3 separate regions of the Homo sapiens genome follow, and all the other regions are linked to region 1. Evidence: promoter capture Hi-C in 16 types of primary human blood cells and fetal thymus (Javierre and others, 2016). All regions are on one chromosome and are shown on one strand. Each heading gives the region's core, a stretch centred on a gene start or on the middle of the fragment in contact. The rest is flanking DNA. Distances are from core to core; before and after follow the strand shown.

Region 1 (4,465 bases), core at 857-3,356:
AAGGTGAAGAGAGTCTAGAAAATCTTTATATAAAAAATTTTTGAAAATTCACATCCATAAGTCTCTGGAAAAATCAAAGCTTTTAACCTTAGGTTAATCTATTGCATTTTAGAAAGACATTATAAACCTAATATCTGCTATCCATTCATTAGTATTTTATAACTGATCTAACTTTAATTCTAATATGTAAGTTCATTGTGTTAGAAGAAAAAAGACTAGAAACCAAAACTCAAATCCAAGTGGTCACCAGTGTTATTTCTCATAAAACAAGATAATTCTTGGGGGAGTGAGGGAATCTGGATGATTTTAGCCTATAAAGTAAGAAGAAAATACATTATTTAAATTACTTACTTTTTCTTTGTAACTAAGGTACTCCAGAAGTAAAAATATAAGTTTCTGATATACTGAGGGAGATGACTGCATTAATCCTACATTCACAGGAAAGTTTTGGATATGTAAGAAGGGGTACAAGAGGACAAAGAAAATCTTCAACTGTTAAAGAAAGATAAAGCTTTGAAGTCCTATTTGTGGAATAGTAACTTCTTTTTGCCAATCACTCACACTGAATTAACTCATTACACCTGGAAAGTCATAGCCAGTCACTGAAGGGCAATATAACACCTTGGACAAATAAGCCTTCCAAACGCAAACTCAAAATATGAGGGCAAACAAGTATTCAAGTCAAATCTACTGCTGGACACTTTGCATGGAAAGTTTGATACCCTTTCAGCTCCTATTATCCTCAGATATTCTATGGGGTACAATTTTCCTACACTATAATTGTAAGGAAATGAGGATAAAAGGCAATGCCTGGGTGGGCAGTACTGAGAAGGGTAAACTCCGTTCCCCACAGTGCTAGAAATAAACAGGAACAATACTATGATCCCAGGAGCACATCATGCATTGCCCTGACTTTCTCAGTACCCTTCTTTCCCAAATATAATGCCTACCTTCCGTGTGGACTGCAGAGACATAGGTCCAATTGTAACGTTTGACTATGTCAAGCATGGCCCTTGCCTGCAAAGTGTCAGAAGGGACAACCCTCAGGAAGTATTTGTACAAAGTTTTGTCACTCAGGTCGATGCTTGTGGCTGAATAAGCGATCTGGGGGATGTCGAAGAGCTGGAGCAGGTTCTGCACTTGAATGGCTACAGAGCTGGAGCCGGGACCGATCACTCCCGCAATGGGCTTCTTAGTCCTGCCTGGGGGGAGGGACTGGCCGTCAGGCAGACACCGGTTGATCCCATCCTTCTCATCTCGAATGGAAATCAGAGAGTCCCTAATGAACTCAATGCTCTGTTCCAGAGCCACGGAAGAGTGCCAGCAGGAGTCCCGGATCTCACTGCCCAGGGTGATGTTGGGCAGGAGGACCGGGTCCGCGTTGATCTTATCCAACGTGTGGAACATGGCCTCCACCCTCTGGATGCCATACTGCTCCCTGATCTCCCCACACTTCCTCTCGGGCACTTTCTCGGCCGGAGGCTGGTGATGGACTGAGAAGAGGGCTCCAATGATGACATCTCCGTCCATTCTGGCCACCGAGCGCTGAGACGACGCTCCTGCCAGCAACACTTTCCTGCCGGGGCTTCTGGGGAGAAGGGACACCTCCAAAAAGATCGCTGGGAAAAAAAACAAAAGGAGCCCGACCATGGTGGTGAGGACGAGGTCCACAGCCTGCCAGCCGCGTTCCCACGCTGGTCCCGCTGCAGGCTCCCGGCGCGCACCCCCAAGACGCCCAGCGCCGCCTCTCCCGGAGTGGTGCCCCTCGCCAACAATGGTCGTCCAAGGCCTTTGCCTCCTCCACCACCGCCTCCTTCCCCTTCGTCTCCTCCTCTGGGTCCTCCACGACCGCCTCTACAAGCTGGAGGCGTTTGTAAGGGAATTCGAGTCCCCGTTCTTCACCGGTAGTGCATCAAGGTAAATTGATCAAGAGTACAGTGGAAGTCGTGTTGGCAGCGGTGAGCTAGATGCTGCTGACAAAAGACAGAGAAAAATCACAACCTTGTCATCAGAGGACCTGTGTTAAAACTCTGGGGTCTATAATGTTAACAGTTGCCTTGTCCGTTTCATTTCGGCACATCCTGATATCGGCTGCAGGAACAGCTTGGAGCGCAGCTGTGGTCACTGAGGAAGGCGGGGTGTCCTGCCCCCTCTGTCCTCACGGGTCCAGGCGGCGCAGAGCCCCGCCAACTCGCCCGCTCCTCCAACCTTAAGTCGTTTCCTGGTCCCCTAAAACCTATCATGCTTTCTAACTTGGAGGGCGGTGGGGAAGGTGAGCAGAGAGGAGGGGAGGAGCTAGGTCCTTCAACCCAAGAGAACTTTCCGGATTGGAAAAGATCAACTTTTTTTCAGAAGAAAATTTGGAAACTCATTGTAAAGGTGGAAGCGCGACTTTAAAATAAACGTAAACAAAGGATGCACCTTTTACTTTAATTTTGAGGGGTTGAAGAAGCCCTGACATAAAATCAGCTGTAAATATAAATTTGCCAGCTTGAAGAAAATCCACATTAGTTACTAAGGCAACGCCTGGTAAAGTCTCCGTATGGAGGAGTTTGGTATGTTTCCCCCGTAAGAAGTCAGGCTTGCTGTGTATGTTCAAGAAGAAGGGGTGCAGATAAGGTAACTTGTTTCCCGCGGTGGGTGGACGGGTTAGGGGGGGTCCTGCGCTTGCTTTGGGGTTTGCATAGTTGCTAGAAAGGGAACGGAGGGGAGCTTCCGGGTTGCTCTCGCCGCGGCAGCCTGAGCCCTGCCGCCTTCAGGACCCTGGACAGTGCTCGGTCCAGCCAGACATTCCCTGGCAGGGCCTGCAAGGGACGCTTTGACCAGTGAGTTGCAATTCCCTGACCCGCTTTGCTCTTTCAACCTCCCTCCTCTGAGTTCTTTACCCATACACACACACACACACACACACACACACACACACACACACACACACTCCCTTCCACTCGAGTCCCCACCGCCCCTCCGCCCTCATTCTCATCACCTTGCACCGCTTGTGCAGGTATATATCCAAACCCACCCGCTTGGGGACAGAGGCGCCAAATCTCAGCCGCCTGCGGGGCTGAAGTTGGCTCCCTCTCCCGTTCCTCCCCTGCTCCTTTTCTCAAGGTGAGAGTCGACGAAAAGGGGGCTATGGGAGCGGGCGAGGAGAGCACAGGAGGTGAGGCAGAAAAAGGAGAAAGAAAACCCAGGCACCCATTGGTCCCGACTCTTCCTGAGGATACAGGACGAAAAGAAATACATAAGCGAGAATGCGCCTGGGACCCGGAGGAAAATCTGATAGACTGGGACTTTGTCTGCCGTTGTGGGTGGGTTTCACCGGAGGAAGTGTCCGCTCACCTGAGTCTGTTTGGAGGACATGGACTTGAGACATACCTGAGTACCTGAGTCGGGGTAGACAGCGCTATGGTCCCGGGGCCAGAGGACCGTGGCCACGCTCGGCTTGCAGACGCCTCAGCTCTAATCCAGACGGTGCAAGGATGCGATCTGGGCTGTACACTAGTGCCCTCTTTCTTCAGCACTATTTTACCGCAAGGGAAAAAGAGGGGGAGGGAAGAAAAAAAAAAACAGGTCACCCAAGGCTTGTCTATTATCTCATGTATAAAAATCAGTCGTTTGATAGAGGGAGGAGGGGAGACAAACTAGGAGGAAGTGGGGAATATTAATTCCTTTACTATATGAGGGGTCGTATAGAAGCTGCCAGATACGTGAATAGTCAGACAATCTGGCCAAAGAAGTGGAGAACTGCCTAGGCTGCTTTGGGGTAGATATCTTTGTATATATATCTCAGGGACTCAAATATATTTTCTCTTTCTGCGAGTAAAGTCCCTACAGAGGGAAACAGAGTGTAAACACATGTACAGACATCTAAAGAAAGGCTCTATTAGTAGATTGCAAGGGAAATCAGGAAGAGGCTGCATAGGGTGGGAGAAGGGAAAGGACAGGCATGCCCATTATGAATTAAGGTATGCCAAATGAAGAGAGACATATTGTGGCTGCATTTTCAGGTCAAGATGTAACTAAATTGAGAATGAGAGTCAGGTCACATGAAAATACTGGAGTGACAAATACTTATCCAAATTCCTCCCAGGCGGCCATCACCTTCCCTACAGGTCTATGGTGTTGCTTCTGACTGTGTGAAAAGCGGAAGTTAAATCACATTCCTCTGGGAACATGTTGGCTGAGCAGAATGTGGCCCGGCTTTTTCAGGGGAAAAGACAAGTGACAGTGTGTCTTTCTACTCTTGTTCAAAGCTTTCTATTTGTGTCATCTGCAGAGCAGAGAGATCAGCTTACGTTGGTCCCTTATGGGTCAGCTTATAATCGCCTTGCTCAGGTCATTATTATATTATGGAATGGTGCCATGTCAGACTGGAGGGGACAAACCACATGAGGCAGTTTCAAATACTCTTCAGTGTGTTCCATGAAACTTAGGAAGGAAAACAATACCTCTAGTCAATAACAAA
Region 2 (4,465 bases), core at 1,151-3,650, 630 kb before region 1:
AGTATCAACAATCATATAAGGCTCAGGGACCTGTGCGGATAATGCAAAAAGATATAATATTCATGTCATTGTTGCCACTGAAAAAAAGAAGAGAAAGAGAGAGTGGGGCAAAAAATATAGTTGAAGGAATAATGGCTGAAAACTCTCCCAAATTGTCATAAGACATAAACCTACAAACTCAAGGAACTCAGACTAAACCAAATAGGATAAACTTAAAGAATTCTACAGCCAGACAGATCGAATTCCAACTTCTTAAAAGTTAAGACAAAAGAAAAAAGCTTGAAAGCCAGCAGCAAGAAAAGACCTGTTAGAGGGGAAGGACAGATTGCTCACCAGGAGCCAGGGAGGCCAGAAGAATAATTCTGGCTGGCCTGGAGGAAAATTCTGGAAGGCTGGAAAATTAATGGCACACTAAATACCAAATGCTGAAAGAAAATTACTGCTAACCCAGAATCATATCACTAGGGAAAATATTCTTTAGGAATAAGAGTAAAATAAACACATTCTCAGATAAAGGAAAGATAAGATAATTTGTCATCATTAGAGTGTCTCAAAAGGAATTGCGAAAGAAAATTTTTCAGAAATAAAAAGAAAGGAGAATAAAAGGAAAAATGGAACATCAAGAATGAGAAAGCATAAAGGAAAAATTTTACATGCCAGTTAAAATATTTACTTAAAAAATAAAAAATGAACATATGACTAAATGTGGTACTCTTGTCTTCAAATTTTTTATATTGTGTTTGAATTTAAAAGCAAAATTTATGATGAAGTTTTCAATATATACACAGGAAATGTTTAAAAAAACTATATCAGTGGTTGGGTGTGGTGGCTCACACCTGTAATCCCAACACTTTGGGAGGCCGAGACAGGAGGATCACTTGAGGTCAGGAATTCAAGACCAGCCTGCACAACATAGTGAGACCCTGTCTCTACAAAAAATAAAATTAGTCAGGCGTGATGATGGCATACCTGTAGTGCTAGCTACTTGGGAGGCTGAGGCAGGAGGATCACTGGATCCCAGGAGTGGAGGCTGCAGTGAGCTATAATTGTGCCACTACACTCCAGCCTGAGCGACAGAGTCAGACCCTATCTCCAAAAAAAAAAAAAAAAAGAAAAAAAGAAAAAAAAGTAAAGGAAAAAGGAAAAGAAAGCTATATTAGAAAAGGAGGAATATAAAGAAGACTAAATGGTGGTAAAGTATTTATATTCCAATTCAAGTGGTAAAATCATGATACTAGTTGACTGTGATAAGCTATGCATGTATATTTTAATTCATAAAGTGAAGAGATTTGCTTGAAAGCACTATAGGTCAATCAAAATGGAATCCTAAGGAATGCCCAAGAAACATACAGGAGTAAAGGAAAGGGGATTAAGAATGCAATAAATACAAAGTAACACACACAAAATAAGAAAGGTAACAAAGAACAAACAAAGAATAAAATCACAGACTTCAATTCCAATTACATCAAATATAAATGTTCTATACAGACAAATTAAAATACAAGAGTAACTTGAATATACTTATCAAAAATTAAGAATTTGCAAATATTTTGATGGAATAACTCCATATGGTAGAAATCCTAGAAAAAGAAGTCCGTACAAATGGGCAAAGACTATATACATAAAGATGAAATTTTACAGCATTGTTTGTTTTGGTAAAACACTGGTCCTAACCTAAATGTTTACCAATATCAAATTAGCAATATATATTATATTTACATATCTCACACAATGGAATACAAAGTAGATCAATATATATTAGCATAGAAAATGACTGTGTGTAGGGAAAAGAATAGTGTACAGAATAATACATTTCTATGACCCTATTGTTATAAATTATGTACAATAGCTTTATGTATGTTTATAAGAATAGAAGAAAGCTTAGGAGGATATAAATAAATCATTTGCTGTGATTAAATATGGTAAAATTACGGGGAACTTTCACTGCATACTTTGAACATTTTAACAGTAGTTGAATTTCCTGTTTTAAAAGCATGTATAATATTACATATAATGAAATAAAGCATTTCCATTTTGGAACAAAGTAATTGAATGATAGAAAAATAATTTTGTCATAGTTTATATCTTGCAAACATTGTTCCTCAAATTTAATGAACAAAAATGTCACTGGATGAGAGAGTTTTCTTATAATGCAGGATTGCAGGCTCTACCCTGGAAATTCAAACTCATGAGGTCTGGAGTGGGGCATGGGAAGTGGATGTTTAAGAAGTACAACAGCCAGTTTGATGTTGGGGGGTTTCTGTACCACAAAATTAGGAAACTCTGAATTCTAGAATAACATTGTGGTTAAGCAGTATAAGGCTCAATCAGAAATAAAGCAAATGCATTTTTATATAAACATATTGATGGCAACTGGGAAAAATTATTGGTCCTAATGTGTGTGTTTTCTCTGTTTATCAGAAACAAATGAAAGCACAGAGACACTCAGAGAAAAGCTGCCATCAGCAATACATATTTCAAGCGGAGAGCAATGGCTAACCTGCTTCTTTCGGGGGCCCAAAGGAATGCTGCCATTGGAAGGCACTTGACGAGATGATATGTGTCCCAGCATTAGTATCATCATTCCCAGGTGAAAGACGGGAGAGAGCTGCTCTGTGTCACAACCCTGTTCTTAATGCTACTCAATAAATTTCTATCTGGCTGAGGTCAAAGAACTTGATACAATTTACTTAGAATCCAAACTGGAAATAATAAAAATACTTTCATAGAAAAAATGATAACCTGGTGTGAAAATCAGAATTTTTAAATGTCATGCCAAGAGGCTCTGAGAGGTTGGTTTGCCTCAAAGAAGTGATAAAGGTAAATGTTTTACAGGACAAAGTGAATGAGGGAGAAGAATATTTGTGATAAGGCAGAGAAGAAAAATCAATTTCCAATAAGAAAAAGGTAAGAAAGCTTTAAGAAACTAAAGAAGAAAAACAGTGAGAAGAAGACTCATCATGTCTCATAAGATGGGAAACGGGAAAGAAAATAAATGTAGGGTATAAGATGAATCTGTAGTGTATTGTACTGAATCAAGAAGTAGAAGTAATAATGCATATTTTATAAACATGTTTCCCAAATACTTGCAGAGAGAAGCAAATGACAGACATGTACAAGTGCTCAACTAGAATTGGAAGAGAAAAAAATCAAAATCAAATTGAGTGTGTCTGGAAAGGAAAGAAACGGATAAAAAACCAACCACATAGGATTTGCATGTAAGACAGAATTGACTCTAACTTCTTACTAATGTTAATATGTACACAGATATTGACTCAGCCCTATCACCTGGGGATCAGGTAGAAAGAAATAAAAATTTCTGCCCTAAGCCTAGAGAGAACAGATTCTACTAATCAGAAAACCAGGCAGCTGCCTCTCTATCACATGCCTACCAAAATAATTCATAGGGAACTGGTATGTCAGTGCTCACAGCATCCTCTGTAGGCATTCCTCTGATGAGACCACTGAGGAAACAGAGGGAGCCAGTGGAGCTGAGGTCCAGTCTCTACCACATCGTTCCCTAAAGGGCTAAATTATCTAGAGGTGGGCTAAATGACTGGACCAGACTGAGATTTCCAAAGTGGGCTCAATACATTTTTAAACAAATTTCTGAATCAAGTGGAGTTGAGCTTGTGAATAATCAGTATGATTAAGGAGAAATAAGTCACATTTTCTTTGCAAAATGGAAAGTGATGTTAATGAATGTTAACTCCTATGCAGGAGGAAATTTGAAAACCAAGGAGGGATGTCAGGAAGCAGAAAGAGAGAATGAGAAATAAATCAACAGGGTTGGTTCAATGTTTCAAAACACTTCATAGTTTTGACCTTCCTCCCACCTCAAGTTTAGACAAATGTGGGACAGGAACCAGGGCATTTTATCTCCTCGCTTTTCCTCTGCGTACCTTCTTTCTATACTCCCTCAACACTATCCACTAGGTTTTTCACCTTTTTAATATCACCCTTCTGCTTGCTCCTCTGCACAGATTTAAAACTTAAAGTCTAGTCTAGATAATAGTCCTCTTGATTGGTAAATAAATAAGATAAAGTAACTTAGAAAGTTATTTTCTCTTCTAACAAAATTTCAAGGCCAATTGTCTTGCTGTGGATGTTTAAAAAACAAAAATCCAATTTTGGATATTAGAAGCTATATTACCTTTTTCCCTTTGCCCTTCCCATTGTAATTATCCTAACAATTTCTCATTATTGGCCCTTCAACATTCCCCATCCCAGGAAGCTAGATGGCTCAGGCCTATGAAAGAAAAAGTTACATTTTCATAAATATATAATGGAATTATTAACTTTTAATACTTTCCCATTCCTTTAAATGTTCAAGGAGGACATTCTTTTCCAGTGACAAGGGCCAAGAAAAACCCAAAGAGTTTGATATGATCTAGCATTGCTAATTTAGTGTGTGTCTGCTTTGCCATATTTATAAGGGGTTTTGGATCCTCTGTTTGTACTTCCT
Region 3 (4,465 bases), core at 730-3,229, 600 kb before region 1:
TCCCTCAAACAACAGAGTGTGCTTACACAAACCTAGTAAGCACACTACACAAATGGTATAGCCTGCAACACAGCTAGGCTAGATGGTACAGTCTATTGCTCCTAGGCTATAAACCTGTACAGCTGTTACTGTCCTGAATATTGCAGGCAACTGTAACACAATGGTAAGCACCTGTGTATCCAAACACATCTAAACATAGAAAAATACAGTAAAAACACGGTATAAAAGTTAAAACAGAATGGTACACCTGTATAGCACACTTACCATGAGTGGAGCTTGCAGGAAGTTGCTTTTAATGAGTCAGTGATTTGAGAGTGACTGTGAAGGCCTGGGAGATTACTGTACACTACTGAAGACCTTATAAATATTGTACACTTAGGCTACATTAAATTTGTAAAAAACAATTTCTTTCTTCAATAATAAATTAGCCTTAGTTTACTAGATGACCACTCTCATATATGAGGCTCATCAGTGGCCAAAGTGTTGTTATGAGGTGTGTGATTGTATTCAAACATGAAACTCCTAAAGGGAAATATAACACAGTACAGGGGAACTGATGAGTTAAGGTACTCAATTTTTAAAACAATGGTTAAGGAAAATATCTATAGTAAGGCAATATTTAAATAATAAAAGAAAGTGAGGGATCAAGCTATGTGACTATCCATCAAAGAATGCTCCAGATACAGGAAGGAAGAGTATTCCAGATGCAGAGGACATCCTGACTTAGTTTAAGAATAATACAGAGGTCAGTGTGCCTTAAGCTGTGTGAGTGGGAGGAAAAGCAATGGAAGTTGATTGCAGAGAGGTACTAGATGCAAAGATTGTCAAGGTGATCTAAGGCAGGGGGAGGGTCTTTACTCTGAGTGAGATAAGAAGCCAAAGGAGGGTTCTGAGCAGGGGTCCAAAATGATATTATTAGAATTTGATGATAATTCTTGCTGCTATGTTGAAAAAGACCAAAGGAAGAAGGGAGACAATGTAAAATGCTTTGAATTAAGAGGAGAGAACTAATGGGGGTTTGGACTGGCTTGGTGACTGAAGAGAAGGCAAGAAATAGATTCTGCATATACTTTAAGATAGAGAAAGCAGATAGAGTTGATATTTCCTTATCGACAGAAGACCGTGGTACGGAGAAAAATTGAGGCAGGGGGCATAAAGCAGCAGTGCGCTGATAAATAAGATTGTGCTTTAGATGCCAAAAATACAGCCTTGAGGATACTGAGTAGGTAATTAGACATCAGATTCTGAAGTTTGGGAGAAAAAATTGGACAACAAGTGAAACTTTGAGAGTCATCAGCATCTAGGTGGTATTTAAAGTCTTAAGACTGGATGAAATCATCAAGAAAATAACTACTTAAGGAAGGGGCACACCCAGGGATGCTAACAGCTGGTATAGATTGAGCAAGAACAATTCTAAATGGACCCTGACCACAATGCTGGGTCAGTGTCTTCAAAGCCTCCAACTAAGCCAGACATTTATTCCGTATTTTATGTAGCAGGAACAAATATTTAAAGTCCTCAGGGAAAGTCAGGGACCTAGGGCAAAAGGCAGAAATGTCTGGAACTCAAGAGTTATTGGTAATTGTTAAGACTACCTACTGAGAAATATAAAAATATTTCAATCTCTAGTAATCAACAGAGCTGTATTTCTGCCCTGGTACTCTATATGTAAGGGTCAGAGAGATAAGGAGGAAATAACTGTGAACACTGAGAAAAGAAAGCAGTCACTGAATGTGGTAGACAGAATAACCACCAACCCCTACTTCAAATACATACACATCTTAGTCCCTGGAAACTGTGGATCTGTTACCCTCCATTGAAAAAGGGAGCTTGTAGATGTGATTAAGTATCTTGAGATGGGGAGATTATCCTGGATTATCTGGGGATCTCAGAGTAACTCCAAGAGTGCTCAAAAGTGGAAGAAGGAGTCGGAGGAGGTTAGAGGGAAAAGTGGCTGCTGAAGAAAGCAAAAAGGGAAAATTGCTGGGTTTGGAAGATAGACAAAAGTGGCCACAAGCCGAGGAATGTGGTCAAGTTCCAGAAGCTGGAAAGGCAAGGAAGTGGATTTTCTCCTAGAGCCTACAGAAAGGAAGGCAGCCCTGCTGAAACCTTGTTGGTAGCTCAGTGAGACCCATTTTGGACTTGTGACCTCGAGAATTCCAAATGAATTTGTCAATGAATGTATGTGATTTGAAGCCATTAAGTTTGTGATATTTTATTCTAGCAGCCATAAGAAACTAATACACTGAGGTAGGAAAAACACACTGGAAGGCGATACCTTGGAAACCAAGTGAAGGTTTTTTTTGTTTTTTTTTTTTTTTAATGAGGAGATGAGCAGGAGACCTAAATGCAGCTAGCAGATCAAGAATGATAAAGTGAAAACAACTAAATGTTGAATTTAGAAACAAGGAAACATCTCTCAAATATCACCTCCTGGAGGTGAGGGCTGGAGGACTTTCATGAACACCCTATTATAGCAAGGTGCTTCTCTGCATCATTTCATATTGCTTCATTTTTATACTACTCAGTACTCTCACTAATCCTTTATTTATGTGCTGACTGTGTGCCTCCACAGGTAGGATTTTGTAAACTCCACTGTGGTAGGAACATTGGATTTTTTGTTCATTTCCTCCATCTCCAGTAACTGGGATGGTACCTGGACAAAGTAATAAATCTATCTCTATCATCTATTTATATGAAATGAAACAATGAATGCCTGTAATTTACATTTCTGATATACCTAATTGAAACTCTGTCAAATTTTTATATGTAGGTAGAGATTGAGCAGAAGCCTACCGATCCTGTTTCCATTTCTTTTGCAGTTTGGCTAGCACTATGTTATGTTGTATTCCAGCTTCGGGTTCATAAACATTCTGTGAGATACTTCTCTCTCTCTTCCTGCTCAATGTCTGTCTGAGTCCTATAAGGACACCTTACAAAATGGTTATACCACAAAATGAAAGGAGTCAGGAACTCTTATTCAGCACATGCAAAGCCAGCACTACACACCTGGTCACACTCTGGTATGAAAGAAATATTCTTTGTAGTGTTAAGTCACTGAGATTTGGTTTTTCGATACTGTAGCATTGTCTCAAATAAAGAGTGCAATTATACTGTTAGGATTTGGATTTCCTCTTTCGTATCTTTAATCATTATAAGCACTTGTATGCTATATTACAGATTATTCTTCTATTATCTTAAATTTTCAACTTTCGATTCTCTTGCTTGTTGTGACTTTTGCCAATATTTTGTATATTCTTTAATTATGAGCTTATCCTTATCAGGGTTTTCTTCTCCTCCTATCCTTTTCCTCCAGGGTAATCCTGTGTTGAGAAGATGTTCTTTCAATATAACATTGAGTTTTCTTCTGTCAGAAACCCCAAATGAATAAGCCATCCAGGAACCCATAGATAATGTAAAAGCAAGTCACAAACCTACTCAAGTCTCAGTGAAAAGTTAGCTTTCTTATAATCTTTCTGTGCTTAGGTGGATTTTCTCATTCATCTCTTTAAAGACAATTAAACTCTTGGAAAGCCGTATTTTCACCTAAGATTGGAATACTTCCTTTCCTCATTTGGGCACAAGACCATGTACTGTATATATTGAAACAAAAGATTCCAATTTTTTAAGACTGATAGGACTTCCCTCAGAGCCATAGCACTCTGATCATCAATTTTTCTCTTCACTTCTGGATCCTGAAGATCCTTATTCTTTTTTTGTTTGTTTGTTTGTTTGTTTTTTAAGAAGCAGGGTCTCACTATGTTGCCCAGGCTGGCCTCTAAGTCCTGAGCACAAATGATGCTCCTACCTCAACCTCCCAAGTAGCAGGGAGTGCCAACATGTCTGGCTTTTATTCTTTATATACATATTTATAAGTATTTGTATTCTCTTCTTTTTTTATGGCCTTACTATTTTGTCAGGCTGGCCTCTAACTCCTGGGCACAAATGATCCTTCCACCTTGGCCTTCCAAGTATTTAGGACTACAAGCATGTGTGATCCTGCCCAGCTTGCTTTCTTTCTTTTATTTTTATTTTTATTTTTATTTTTTGACGGAGTTTCACTCTTGTCACCCAGGCTGGAGTGCAATGGTGCGATCTCAGCTCACTGCAACCTCCGCCTCCCGGGTTCAAGCGATTCTCCTCCTTCAGCCTCCTGAGCATCTGGGACTACAGGCACCTGCCACCATGCCCAGCTAATTTTTGTATTTTTAGTACAGGTGGAGTTTCATCATGTTGGCCAGGCTGGCCTCAAATTCCTGACCTCAGATAATCCACCTGCCTCAGCCTCCCAAAGTGCTGGGATTATAGGCACGAGCCACAGTGCCTAGCCAGCTTTTTTCTTTATACACACATTTATAGGTATTGTTATTCTTTTAAAATATTAATCTACTATCATCCTAGAAAAGAAAGTCTGAAAATTTATACATTGTTAAAGAGGATTCCTAAGTAGCATGTAAGAATGTAT

The links. Contacts are between HindIII fragments. The CHiCAGO score rates a contact against its expected background, and 5 or more counts as called.
Region 2: a fragment that was not itself captured here is called in contact with the fragment with the promoter of GRM1 in region 1 in 3 of 17 cell types (endothelial precursors, M1 macrophages and M2 macrophages); the score reaches 7.8 in endothelial precursors.
Region 3: a fragment that was not itself captured here is called in contact with the fragment with the promoter of GRM1 in region 1 in 1 of 17 cell types (endothelial precursors); the score reaches 6.5 in endothelial precursors.

Annotation. Positions count from the first base shown.
Region 1 is chr6:146,026,703-146,031,167 of GRCh38, reverse strand. GRM1 (glutamate metabotropic receptor 1) reads right to left here and starts at 2,106. Exons shown (of 8, transcript NM_001278064.2): 1 at 951-2,106. The coding sequence starts at 1,650. RefSeq lists enhancers at 1,287-1,787, 1,788-2,288. The HindIII fragment of the contact is 3,742 bases long and covers 514-4,255 here.
Region 2 is chr6:146,657,867-146,662,331 of GRCh38, reverse strand. The region is part of intron 5 of ADGB (androglobin); the gene reads right to left. Among named protein-coding and RNA genes, the nearest start is that of ADGB, 61 kb to the right of the region's middle. The HindIII fragment of the contact is 1,036 bases long and covers 1,883-2,918 here.
Region 3 is chr6:146,629,820-146,634,284 of GRCh38, reverse strand. The region is part of intron 1 of ADGB (androglobin); the gene reads right to left. Among named protein-coding and RNA genes, the nearest start is that of ADGB, 33 kb to the right of the region's middle. The HindIII fragment of the contact is 5,071 bases long and covers 1-4,465 here.